3 separate regions of the Homo sapiens genome follow, and regions 1 and 3 are each linked to region 2. Evidence: promoter capture Hi-C in human tissues and cell types (Jung and others, 2019). All regions are on one chromosome and are shown on one strand. The core of a region is centred on a gene start or on the middle of the fragment in contact, and the rest is flanking DNA. Distances in the headings are between cores, read along the strand shown.

What was found. Contacts are between HindIII fragments. The study calls those that stand out against the background at their distance.
Region 1: a contact is called between a fragment that was not itself captured here and the fragment with the promoter of HYOU1 in region 2, in 1 of the 25 tissues and cell types used here (dorsolateral prefrontal cortex).
Region 3: a contact is called between a fragment that was not itself captured here and the fragment with the promoter of HYOU1 in region 2, in 1 of the 25 tissues and cell types used here (spleen).

The regions. Positions count from the first base shown.
Region 1 is chr11:119,351,611-119,355,895 of GRCh38, forward strand. It overlaps USP2 (ubiquitin specific peptidase 2), which reads right to left. Exons shown (of 13, transcript NM_004205.5): 13 at 3,605-4,285. Among named protein-coding and RNA genes, the nearest start is that of MFRP, 7.0 kb to the left of the region's middle. The HindIII fragment of the contact is 6,124 bases long and covers 1-4,285 here.
Region 2 is chr11:119,055,117-119,059,120 of GRCh38, forward strand. HYOU1 (hypoxia up-regulated 1) reads right to left here and starts at 2,089. Exons shown (of 26, transcript NM_006389.5): 1 at 1,904-2,089; 2 at 954-1,051; 3 at 634-727; 4 at 377-455; 5 at 69-223. The coding sequence starts at 1,044. RefSeq lists enhancers at 1,187-1,687, 1,688-2,187, 2,547-2,596 and silencers at 1,667-1,946, 2,037-2,316. The HindIII fragment of the contact is 15,957 bases long and covers 1-4,004 here.
Region 3 is chr11:118,696,364-118,700,745 of GRCh38, forward strand. All of the region lies in intron 2 of LOC105369519 (a long non-coding RNA gene), which reads left to right. Among named protein-coding and RNA genes, the nearest start is that of TREH, 19 kb to the left of the region's middle. The HindIII fragment of the contact is 7,665 bases long and covers 1-4,382 here.

The sequences.
Region 1 (4,285 bases), core at 1,631-4,130, 300 kb after region 2:
CAGGTTCTTGTTCTGTTGCTTAGGCTAGAGTGCACTGGTGTGACCACGGTTCACTGCAGCCTCAACCTCCTGGTCAATTGATCCTCCCACCTCAGCCTCCCAAGTGGCTGGGACTACAGGTGCATGGTGCTATGTCTGGCTAATTTTTGTACTTTTTGTAGAGACAGAGTTTTACCATGTTACCCAGGCTGGTTTCAAACTCCTGGGCTAAAGTTATCTGCCCATCTTGGCCTCCCAAAGTGTTGGAATTACAGGCATGAGCCACTGTGCCTGGCCAGACACTGTTTTTCTTAACTGGCACTCACAACTCTGAATAGGTAATGTTATGCTCAGATTACAGATGAGGAAATTGAGGCTCAGAGAGATTAAGTAACTTGCTTGGGCTGTGAATGTTAGTCTCTTTCTGCTGCCTCCTGCATCCTGCACAGGTGCTTGTTTCTGCTCGTAGAGCAATGAAGGATGGGGACCCTCAGAGGTGTCCAGCTCAGACAGACCTACTAGGGTCCAGGTAGGAGGCAGATCATGGTGGTTTTGCTGTTGGGTATGTGTGAATGTCACACTGCTGTTTGGCTCAGTTCCTAATAGATGCAGGGTTGGAAAATTTGCTGCAGAAAGTCCTGCAAAATGCTGTCAATTATTCAAACTAAAGACAGAGTACTCGGAAAGAGAACTGGGTAGGGAGTCAAGATACCCAGGTTCCATCCTGTCTCTGCTTCTGACATGCTATGTGGCCTTGAGCAAGTCTTCTCTAGGGCTCAGTATCCTCACTGCCAAATCGAGATCATGGACAAGGTGACCTCTATGATCTAACTCTAAAGCTTTGTAGAGGCCGGGCATGGTGGCTTACGCCTGTAATCCCAGCAGTTTGGGAGGTCAAGGCGGGTGGATCACCTGAGGTCAGGAGTTCGAGACCAGCCTGGCCAACATGGTGAAACCCTGTCTCTACTAAAAATACAAAATTAGTCAGGCATGGTGGTGCATGCCTGTAATCCCAGCTACTCGGGAGGCTGAGGCAGGAGAATCGCTTGAACCCGGGAGGTGGAGGTTGCAGTGAGCCGAGATCACATGACTGCACTCTCACCCTGGGTGACACAGTGAGACTCTGTCTCAAAAAATAAATAAATAAAAAAATATATAAAATATAGCTTTATAGAAAGAAGTAAGCATTCTGAGCATTGGTCACTTAAAAAAATTCTATAAACTGGAACCAGGGAACTAGAGTTAAGTTCCGTATCTTGGGACTTGAGCATGTGTTTAGAGGAAAAGTGACTTAGAATGATTGATAACATGGGAGTGGAGACCTTCAAGATCCACAAGTCCTATCTCAGTAATTTGCAGATGAGGCACGGAGGCCCAGAAAGAGGGAGGTTCTTGTTCAAGGTCACACAAGAGCAGTTGCAGGGGAAGCCCCTCCCCTAGGGAGAGGCCTGCTGGATCAAGAGCAAACAATGAGGGAAGAGAGCCAAGTTGCTAGGAGGCAAAGCTTGATGGACAAAAAAACGTGGGGACAGACCTGCGTGTGTTTGTGCTCTGTGTAACACTAGGACCTGTTGCCATGGGGATGAGAAAGCACCACAGATTAATTACTGAAGAGCTGGGAGCAAGGGTGGCGGACCTGAGTGGAGCCCCTGCCCTCAATGTCTCCTAGAGTCCATCTGTTCCCCAGTGGAAGACAGCAAAAATTACAGGGCTGCTTCTACCTCCAGTGAAGAACTAGTCAGAGTACAGCCATTCACTTTGCTACAAGCCTCATGTTTTTATTTTGAGGGGATCCTGTTTGCCTGCGGCTTGGGGGCAATCATCAGGGTAAGATTTCCAATCACAGCCTGGGTCAGGCCACCCTCAGGGCAGGCCAGGGAAGTTTGGGTCCCTCAGGGAGAAATTCCAAGTTTTAAGTCACTGTCATTTTCAATCCCTCTTCTTCACTCTTGGGAAATGCTTAGAAAAATGCCCCCACAACTGTCCCCCTCCATGAGGTGGGTTTGATAGCAGCACACAGGCCTTAAGTGACAGCAGGTGCTTCTGTCTCAGCAAGGATGGAATAGTCAGGCCTTTATTTTTCAGTGTCTGGAGCAGTGAAGGCAGTGAGGAAGAATCCTGATGAAACACTCCAGGCTCACCTGGTGGAGCCTTCAGCTTCCCTAGTTCTAAGACCAGCAGCAGAAATGGAAAAGCTGAACAGTGCTAATGAAGAGGTGACACCAAAGGAGACGTGGGTCACCGAGTGCACCAAAGGCATCACCTCTTTTAGGGGTTAAATCTGAAGTCTTGAGAAAAAGCACTTTAGGGAACAAAGCCTGTAACATAAAGGTAACTGTTTCTAAGTATTAGGTGGTAAAGCTGAGATCTTTGACTTATCAAAGACTAAGCCCTGGCTGGGCGTGGTGGCTCACGCCTGTAATCTCAGCACTTTGGGAGGCCGAGTCAGGCAGATCACCTGAGGTCAGGAGTTCGAGACCAGCCTGACCAACATGGAGACACCCCCGTCTCTACTAAAAATAGAAAAATAGCTGGTCGTGGTGGCGTATGCCTGTAATCCCAGCTACTGGGAGGCTGAGGCAGGAGAATCGCTTGAACCCAGGAGATGGAGGTTGCAGTGAGCTGAGATCATGCCATTGCGCTCCAGCCTGGGCAACAAGAGTGAAACTCTGTCTCAAAAAAAAAAAAAAAAAAAAAAAAAGACTAAGCCCTGGTCACTCCACATCCAGGTAATGATACTCTGCTCTAAGAGCAAGTTTTGCTATATTTGACATCTGCTGGAGAGATGTATTTTATCTTATCATAGGTCTGTGAAAACACCCAAGTGTTTCTTTTTTCATAGAGACAGGGTCTCACTATGTTGCCCAGGCTGGTCTCAAACTCCTGGCCTTAAGCCATCCTCTCACTTCAACTTCTTGAATTACTGGTGTGAGCCACCATGCCCAGCCCCAAGAGTTTCAACCAAGAATTAAGAGAGTAGCCCATACCAGCATTAAAAAGTAGACAGTTCATTAAAAAAAAAAATGGACATGTGAAAACCATGTCACATAGGAGAATGTCCTGATTCTTAGGAGATGTATGCTCAAGTATTTAGAAGTGGTGATATAACACCTCACCTGAAAATGTTTCGGCAGACAGAATAAAGTACAGTTGACCTTTGAACAATGCGGGCTTGAACTGTGTGGGTCCACTTTCACGTGGATTTTTTCAACCAAATAAGGATAGAAAATACTGCATTTGTAAGATGCAAAACCCACATATATAGAAGGCTGATTTTCATATACGCAGGTTCTGCAGGGGTGACCTTGGGACTTGAATATGGTGCAGATTTTGGTATGTGTGTATCTTGGAACCAATCTCCCTGTGTATACTGGGGGATGGCTGTATATTTAAATGTGTTTGTAAACAATTGGTGAATCCAGATGAAGAATATAGTGTCCAAAATATGTATTGTTTCAGTTTTTAAAAAATTAAACTTAAATGTTCAAACTAAAAAGTGGGTAACTTTTTCCAGAAACTTGGAATTTACAAACTGGTTGAAACAATGAAATAGATGGCCCCTAATATACTAGGAGCCCTTCCTAGATTCAAACACTCCCAAATCAAGATTCCAACATCTGCCAACTGATTTCTCAAAGCTATTATTTATTCTGTACAAGGTTCCACTGTACATTAGACATTCTTCTACTCTTGCTTACACAGTAAACAAGTGTACACTTGCCCTTGGGCTCAGGTTCACAGGTCTTCTCTGGAGAAGGGTGTCAGGCCAGTAAAACTCAGGGTGTCTTTCTCTGATGCCTCCTCCTAGGAGCCTGGAATGTGCCAGGCTCCACGGGGCACAAGCCGGGCCCAGCTGTGTGGGTGAACAGCTTTACTCTCCAGGACAGCACAGAGTTTTATCCAACTATGTAGGGCAAAATTGAGCCCACAGGAAAGAACCATACAACTGAGGCAAGATGTCCCCAAATACCCAGGCTCCAGCTCCCAGGGCAGGACTGGAGACCAGCGCTAAGAAGAGCTGAGGGGTGGCCTGGGCATCCCTGAGAAACTCGGTCCAAAGGGCCTATTGTCTAGGAGGCTCTGAGAAGGGGGCGGGGGCAGGAAGGCCAGGGGGAAAGGGATGTTAAGAGAATAAATAAAAGGGAGAGAAGCTCTAGGGACGAGGGGCTTGTGCTATCCTTCAAACAGCTGGGGAGCAGACCAGGGGTGGGCTAGAGGACGTGGGCGGGAAGAACTTGATGCCCTGTCGGAAGGAATCTACCTGCTTTCTTCTTTGCCTCACTGCAATGCACAACGAGCCAGGGCT
Region 2 (4,004 bases), core at 839-3,338:
TCAGGAACACACACCAATGAGGAGCCCAGCAGCGTTGCCGAGACCACCTTCCCCAACAGAGCACTCACGAGCTGATCTGAAAGTGCACAGTCTGCCTCTGTGGGTCGAAAGTCAGCTCGTGCTCCGGGAAGCGGGCCTGGTAAAGAGCTACATGGGGGTTATCTGCCTGCTTCCCCAGGAGGTGCTGGAAGTAACGTAGCGTAGCCTTTGGATTCTTAATCGCCTGAGGGGTGAAGAAGGAGCAGACTAGTATTAGGCTCCCAAGTCCACCATTACCTACCTCTTACATCACAGAGACTGATAAGGAAACAGACTCTGGGGGCTGCCATCTCCTCTCCTCTGCCCACCACTCTGGGAAGAGGGACTGCTAGCTCACCATGCTTGCTGCACTGTCTCCAAAGAATCTTTCATTTTCTTTCAGGGTCACGATCACCGGTGTTTTCCTCCGAGATTCCCTGAGGAAAAGAGATTTTGGGCCCAGGTGCCTGCAGCAGAAGGACTCAGAAGCCTCGACACTCACACACATTTAACCACTCAGATGCCGAAGTCTGCTGTGGGCACTATGACTAACACATTCACACTTGGAGCCCAGACTCCCTCGTTCCCCACCCTTAACACGGGGGCCACCCTCACTTATTCAAGACAATTTCCATGGGCACTCCAGGTTTGACAATGGCCACCTTCATGGACTCACTGCCCAGGTCCACAGACATCACTGCCAGTGTATCTGAAGGGAAAAGAGGTTTGTCAGTTAGCTCTCCCTTCGCCCACCTTCCTGGGACTCCCTCTAATCAAAGCATACCACTTTCCATGGGTAAACGAAGATGGCAAAAGACAAAAAGGCCTGGACCTAACAACTCAAGAGACTTCTGGCCAACAGCCCCAAGCTCAATTCCCATCATGCATCCTTCAGTCATCATTTATCCATTTGCTCCCTCTACTGGGGTACATACCACTCAGTGCCAACAGGTCTGCCAAGAGCACAGCCACCAAGGCCCAACAGACTCGCCTCCTCGGCCTCTGCCTCCTAACTTTGTCTGCCATAGTGCCCCTGGGGGAGGCGAAGAAAGAAAACACTTAAAACTGGATACCCGGAGTGAAGGAGACAGAATCACATCCCAGAACGGAGAGGCTGTAAGATTCATATCTACTTCATTCTTACCCAGGGCAGATCAGCCTACTTCTCCCCTTCTCCCTCCTGATGGGTACAAACCATTCTCTAATCATCCCAGCAGCGCCCACACAAAGGCCCAAGTGAAAGAGCATGGGTCCTCGGCTTTGCCACATCCCTAAACAGAGAAGCTAACAGGACAAGAGAAAGGAGACCCGAGCCTTTTGTCCACCACACAGGCAGTGAGTGGCGCACCGCAGCACTGTGCCTGTTGTCAGACACCTGGGGTGCGGCCAGGGATCCCCGCCCAGGGCTCAACCACCTCCCCACACCTGGAGCTCCCCCGCTGACGGGGAAAGCCAGCTGGGCCTGGACGGGAAGAGAAAGGTAATGACGTTGGGGGTAGCTAGGATGAAGGAAAGGCCTATCTCCTCCTCGGCATCCCTGCGGGTTGTCCCGCCCCCTCCCCTTTCCCAGCTCACTCCCCGGCCCCGCTGTGCCCACAGACGCAGTGCCAGGGGCGGTAAGGTTCCCCGCCCGGCGGGTAGCCGTTACCCGGTGTTCACCTAAACCCCACCTGACGAAGGCGGCGGCTCCCACTCCCGGAAACGGATCCCGGCCCGCCCCAGCAAGTGGGGACAGACCGGGGGCCGAGCTGCGTGCCCCCCGGTGCGAGGCCGAGCGCCCGGCGTCCGCGCGGCCCTCCCTTGCGCTCCCGACCCGCCCCCGGAGCTCGCACGCTGTCTCCCCTAGGAGGGGTGGCCGGCCCGCACCTCCATCCACCCCCGCTACCTCTTGCCTCCGCTCCTGCGGCCCCAGCTCTGGGACAGACGCGGCACGAACGTACCCACGAGGCCGGCAGCGCCCCCCACCCGCGCCCTTCACAACTCCTCTCGGTTTGCAAACTGTTACATTAGCCACCAACCTCTCGGCGGCGTCTCGCGCACCAGCCGGCCCCGGACGCGGCGCGCGCTCATTGGAGCCTCGGCCGCCCGGCCCTGCGCTGCGCGCCCGGCCCCGCCCCCGCCGCCCCGGCGCGCGTACTCATTGGACCACGTCCCAGGCCCCGCCCCCTCCCTTTGCCAGCCTTGTAATGGGGCGGCGGAGGGGACCAGCCACCGGTTGGGCAGAAGCAGCCGGCGTCGGCCTGGGATTGGACCACGTCACGGGGCCAGCGCGCTCCACTCCTTCCTCCCCAGCGCCGGCCCCGGGGCGACCGCGGGACCTTTTCCGGCGCTGGATGCTTTGCTGCCGGGGTTCGGGAGTGACCTGCGCCTAGAGCAGGTCGGGCGCACTGCAGTCCCGCACTCGGGGCTCTTCTTCCGGTCACCTGTAGAGCCCGGCCGAGGAATGGAATAACAGGCGTCCTGTCCGCAGCCCCGCGGAGGGGGCGCTGGCCTGCCGGTTAGTATTGAGGTGCCCTAGGCTTTGGATAGACGTTGGAGAATGGCTGTCCCTCGGACTGAGTCCGTCGCAACCCCCTCTGTTTTACTGAGGAAACTGAAGCCACAGAAAAAGATGTTTGCTGATGGGTCAGAGATAACCGATGCATTCGTCGCAGAATCTGGCCAGGATTTCTTAGGTTAAGCCCCACTCATTTGTATAAGAAAGAATATTCCAAACTTAAGTACTACACACAAAAGACACTTTTATTTGTGAGGCTATAGTTGGTTGAGCTTGTGTGCACCTTCTCCTATTTCTGTTCTATTAAATCTTGTGAACATTTCTCTACTCTTTAGCTGTTTCTGTCATAGAATGACAGAAGCACCTCACTGCCTTCTCTTTTAACTTACAGCTCCATAGAAATGTGCGCAGTCGCCCGGGCGCGGTGGCTCACGCCTGTAATCCCAGCATTTTGGGAGGCCAAGGCGGGCGAATCACTGGAGGTCAGGAGTTCGAGACCAGCCTGGCCAACATGGTGAAACCCCGTCTCTACCAAAACTACAAAAATTAGCCAGGCGTGGTGGCGGGTGCCTGTAATCCCAGCTACTCACGAGGCTGAGGCAGGAGAATTGCTTGAATCCGGGAGGCAGAGGTTGCTGTGAGCCCAGACTGCGCCACTGCACTCCAGCCTGGGCGACAACAGCGAGACTCCTTCTCGAAAAAGAAATGTACGCAGTCCTTGGAGACTGCATTTTCCTTAAGTGTGGATGGAAATAAGTCATCTGTTTTCTCTCCTACTAAGTTGATGCCTGGCCACCCTTCACAGAAAGGCCCGCTTGAAGACCCTGGCTGTCAGGGCCAGGGTTGTGTCAAGCCTGAACTTGTTTAAGGAGCTCTTAGCTCTTCCTTTCTCTACATTTTTCGTGATGCTTAGGTGGAGAGTGGTCCGGTGTCTATGCTTAGAAGGAAAAATTATTGGCAGTCCCAGAGAGAGTCTATTCTTCCTTTTTTTTTTTTTTTTTTTTTTATTGATCATTCTTGGGTGTTTCTGGCAGAGGGGGATTTGGCAGGGTCATAGGACAATAGTGGAGGGAAGGTCAGCAGATAAACAAGTGAACAAAGGTCTCTGGCTTTCCTAGGCAGAGGACCCTGCGGCCTTCCGCAGTGTTTGTGTCCCTGGGTACTTGAGATTAGGGAGTGGTGATGACTCCTAACGAGCATGCTGCCTTCAAGCATCTGTTTAACAAAGCACATCTTGCACCGCCCTTAATCCATTTAACCCTGAGTGGACACAGCACATGTTTCAGAGAGCACAGGGTTGGGGGTAAGGTCATAGATCAACAGCATCCCAAGGCAGAAGAATTTTTCTTAGTACAGAACAAAATGAAGTCTCCCATGTCTACTTCTTTCCACACAGACACAGCAACAATCCGATCTCTATCTTTTCCCCACCTTTCCCCCTTTTCTATTCCACAAAACCACCATTGTCATCATGGCCCGTTCTCAATGA
Region 3 (4,382 bases), core at 1,755-4,254, 360 kb before region 2:
GGTGAAACCCCGTCTCTACTAAAAATACAAAACTAGCCAGCACGGTGGCTTATGCCTGTAATCCCAGCATTTTGGGAGGCTGAGGTGGGTGGATCACCTGACCTCAGGAGTTCTGAGACCAGCCTGACCAACATGGTGAAACCCCGTCTCTACTAAAAATACAAAATTAGCAGGGCATGGTGGCACATGCCTGTAATCCCAGCTATTTGGGAGGCTGAGGCAGGAGAATTGCTTGAACCTGGGAGGTGGAGGTTGTAGTGAGCTGAGATCACGCCATTGCACTCTAGCCTGGGGAATAAGAGTGAAACTCCATCTCAAAAAAAAGAAAAAAGGTCGGAAATGATGTATTTTAGCCGCGCAGATAGTCAGCCATACGCCTGTTTCACTTATGGGTAGAAACACTGCAGTTGACTTCATTTCAGCAGCTGAGGGGCCCAGAGGACTGTGTCCTCTGCCTCACTGTGCAGGCCTCAGTCATGTTCCTGGCAAATATTCCAGAAGGCTCAGAGGAGGCGTGTTGAGAGTGTTGTCAGCCAATCACCACAAAGCTGCTCCTTCAGGAGCCTTCTCACTCTGAACCTCACATAACACAAGCCTGTGGCTGGAGGGAGGGTGGCAGGGGCCTACCTGGGCATTACTTCCACGCTTGCAGCCTCAGGGTAACCCTGGTGGTCAGATAAGCAAAGATCAGCCTCAAAGCAGCAAATAGGACCATGTCCTCTGGGGCCTTACCATGGTCCGCATGCAGTCCAGGCTTGGCTTCACCATTTGCATGAGAGCTCAGAGGACACCCATGGCCACAGAGGCTTAGCTCAGCCAGGGGAATGGAGACAGTCAGTAACATGGAGGTGAGATCATAGCAAACACCTTCATCTCCGGTTCAAGGGGGAAGGGGTCACCTGCTGGGGAAGGAGGAGGCTCTGGCAGGTGACGCTGAGCTGGAACGTCGACCACCTTCCTCACGGCCTTGGCAGTGAATTCCAGATGCCCAGACCTCTGCAAACAACTTCCAGCAAATGCAGCGAGGACAGCAGGGCACCTACTGTTGACTCAAAAAGACACTTCCAGGTTTCCCCAGAAAAGGCAGCCTTTGCTGCTGCAGCCCCTGCGGATGACGGCTTGTTTAATAGCTCAGATTCCCCAGGCAGTTTCTCCACCCTCCGCTGCTGGGATTCTTGCAATGGCGATGTGGTGGGTCGGCCTGGAGAGGGTGGGTCAGGAAGGATCTTCTGACTTGGAGACTTCCAGGGGAGACAACACCACACACAAGGCCCTGCTCCAGACTTGGCAAGGATGATGCCAAATACGCGGAGGCAGCTGCAGGAGGAGCTTGTTCCCAGGATAAAGAGGTGGTCAGCTGGCCAGGTACAGTGGCTCATGCCTGTAATCCCAGCACTTTAGGAGGCTGAGGTGGGCGGATCACCTGAGGTTGGGAGTTCGAGACCAGCCTGCCTAACATGGAGAAACCCTGTCTCTACTAAAAATACAAACAATTAGCTGGGCGTGGTGGCAGGCGCCTGTAATCCCAGCTACTCAGGAGGCTGAGGCAGGAGAATCACTTGAACCCGGGAGGTGGAGGTTGCAGTGACCCGATACGGTGCCATTGCACTTCAGCCTGGGCAACAAGAGCGAAACTCCGTCTCAAAAAAAAAAAAAAGAAAGAAAAACAAGCTGGGTGCAATGGCTCACGTCTGTAATCCCAGCACTTTGGGAGGCCAAGGCAGGTGGATCACCTGAGGTCGGAAGTTCGAGACCAGCCTGACCAACATGGAGAAACCCTGTCTCTACTAAAAATACAAAATTAGCCAGGCGTAATGGCGCATGCCTGTAATCACAGCTACTTGGGAGGCTGAGGCAGGAGAATTGCTTGAACGCAGGAGGCGGAGGTTGCGGTGAGCAGAGGTCATGCCATTGCGCTCCAGCCTGGGCAACAACAGTGAAACTCCACCTCAAAAAGAAAAAGAAAAGAAAAGTCTACAGTATAATGGTAAGAAATGTAAGCGTGTCAGATTCTGTTTTTAGAACGGAAGCATAACAGATCCACCGAAAGCATCCTGTGTTTGGTGTTCCCTTTCCTACCTGGGTTCCTCGCCCACCCAGGCATGACTGCGCTCCTGAATGTATGGTGTATCAGTCCCCTGCATGCTTTTATACCTCTGCTGTTCATGCGTGGATCTGCTAGGGTTGCTTGGCATGTTTTTTTGTTGTGGTAAAATATACATGGCATAAAATTTTCTATCTTAACCACTTTTAAGTGTACATTTCAGGGACATTAAGAACATTCACTTTTTTTTTTTTTTTTTTTGGAAACAGAGTCTTGCTCTGTCAACCAGGCTGAAGTCCAGTGACGCAATCTTGACTCATTGCAACCTCGGCCTCCCAGGTTCAAGTGATTCTCCTGCCTCAGCCTTCTGAGTAGCTGGGATTACAGGTGCCTGCTACCACGCCCACCTAATTTTTGTATTTTTAGTAGAGATGGGGTTTCACCATGTTGGCCAGGCTGGTCTCGAACTCCTGACCTCAGGTGATCTGTCCACCTTGGCCTCCAAAAGTGTTGGGATTACAGGCGTGAGCCACCGCACCTAGCCCTTTTTGTTTCTCTTCACTTTTGTCCTACTCCTGTCAAATTTTTCTTTTTTTTTTTTTGAGACAGAGTCTCGCTTTGTCGCCCAGGCTGGAGTGCAGTGGCGCAATCTTGGCTCACTGCAACCTCTACCTCCTGGGTTCAAGCAGTTCTCCTGCCTCAGCCTCCCCAGTAGCTGGGATTACAGGTGCCTGCCACCATACCCGGCTAATTTTTGTATTTTTAGTAGAAACAGGGTTTTGCTATGTTGGCCAGGCTGGTCTCGAGCTCCTGATCTCAGGTAGTCTGCCCCCCTCAGCCTCCAAAAGTGCTAGGATTACCAGTGTGAGCCACCGCACCCGGCCTCAAATTTATTGATTCTCTTACTGCTCGAACCCAGGAGGTGGAGGTTGCAGTGAGCCAAGATTGTGCCACTGCACTCCAGCCTGGGTGACAGAGCGAGACTCAGTCTCAAGAAAAAAAAATGTATTGAGTCTCTTTTATTACTTTTTCTAGTTTTATTTCTTTATTTGTTTATTGTTCATACATTTGTTTGTTTGTTTGTTTGGGCTTGGAAGTGATGGATTTCATTCCTAGTCTCTCATGCTTCCCTCCATCCACATTTTTCACATGCGCACTGAATTACAGAATCTAAAGCTAATCAGAAATTGTCCCCTGCAGGAGGAAAGGCACTCTTTAGCTCTGATCACACCTTCTGTCTTACAGACTGTCACTCGGCATCACAGGCTGACTTTGTTTTCATGCCTCCAACCAATCATCGTCATTGCTGCTGTGGTTCCCACCATCAGTGCTTCTGTGGACTTACCCACATGTTTACCAGTTTCTTTGCTCTTCATTGCTTTCATTGCCCTCTCACTCCTTTTGAGGTCAATTTCCTTTCTCTTAACAAAAATGTATTAGCAGCTCTCTTGCTGATGGTACTTTAGGATAAACTCTTTCAAAAGTCTTCCTCTGAAAAGACCTTGTTTTAATTTTTAAATTTTGTTTTGTTTTAGAAAATTTTCATGTGGAGCCTCCCATTGATGAAAAAATCTCCATTTCACTTTTACTCGTTGTGGTGCATTATCAACAAAGATGGCCACCAACAGTTTTGTTCATCCCTGTAATGTCACTCCTCCCATCAAGAAGTGGAATGTGGCCGGGCGCAGTGGCTCACACCTGTAATCACACCACTTTGGGAGGCCAAAGTCGGCAGATCACATGAGGTCAGGAATTTGAGAGCAGCCTAGTCAACATGGTGAAACCCCATCTCTACTGCAAATGCAAAAATTAGCTGGGCTACTCAGAAGGCTGAGGCAGGAGAATTGCTTGAACTCGGGAGGCGGAGGTTGCAGTGAGCTAAGATTGCACCACTGCACTCCAGTCTAGCTGACAGAGCTAGTCTCCTCTCAGAAAAAAAAAAAAAAAAAGAAGTGAAATTTATTTCCTTTCGCCCCTCCCCTTAAATCTGGGCCAGCCTTGTGACTCACTTTGACTAGTAGAAGGTGGAAGTGATATTATGCCAGGTCCAGACTTAGGCCTTAGGAGGCCTGGCAGTTTCCATTTTCACCCTCTTGGGATCCAGCCACTATGAAACCAAGTTCACCTGCTTTATTGGAGAGAGAAATGACCTAGAAGATGAAAGACAGCAAAGGGAGAGCAGGATGCCCAGCCAGCCACCAGCCATTCTGACCCCTTCAGCTGAGGCACTGCATGGGTGAGTGAAGCTGTGGGATCTCACAGTCCCAGTTGAGCCACCTCAGCCAAAACATCACATAAGAACACAGATGAGCCGTCCCAACTGAGCCCTGCCAAACTA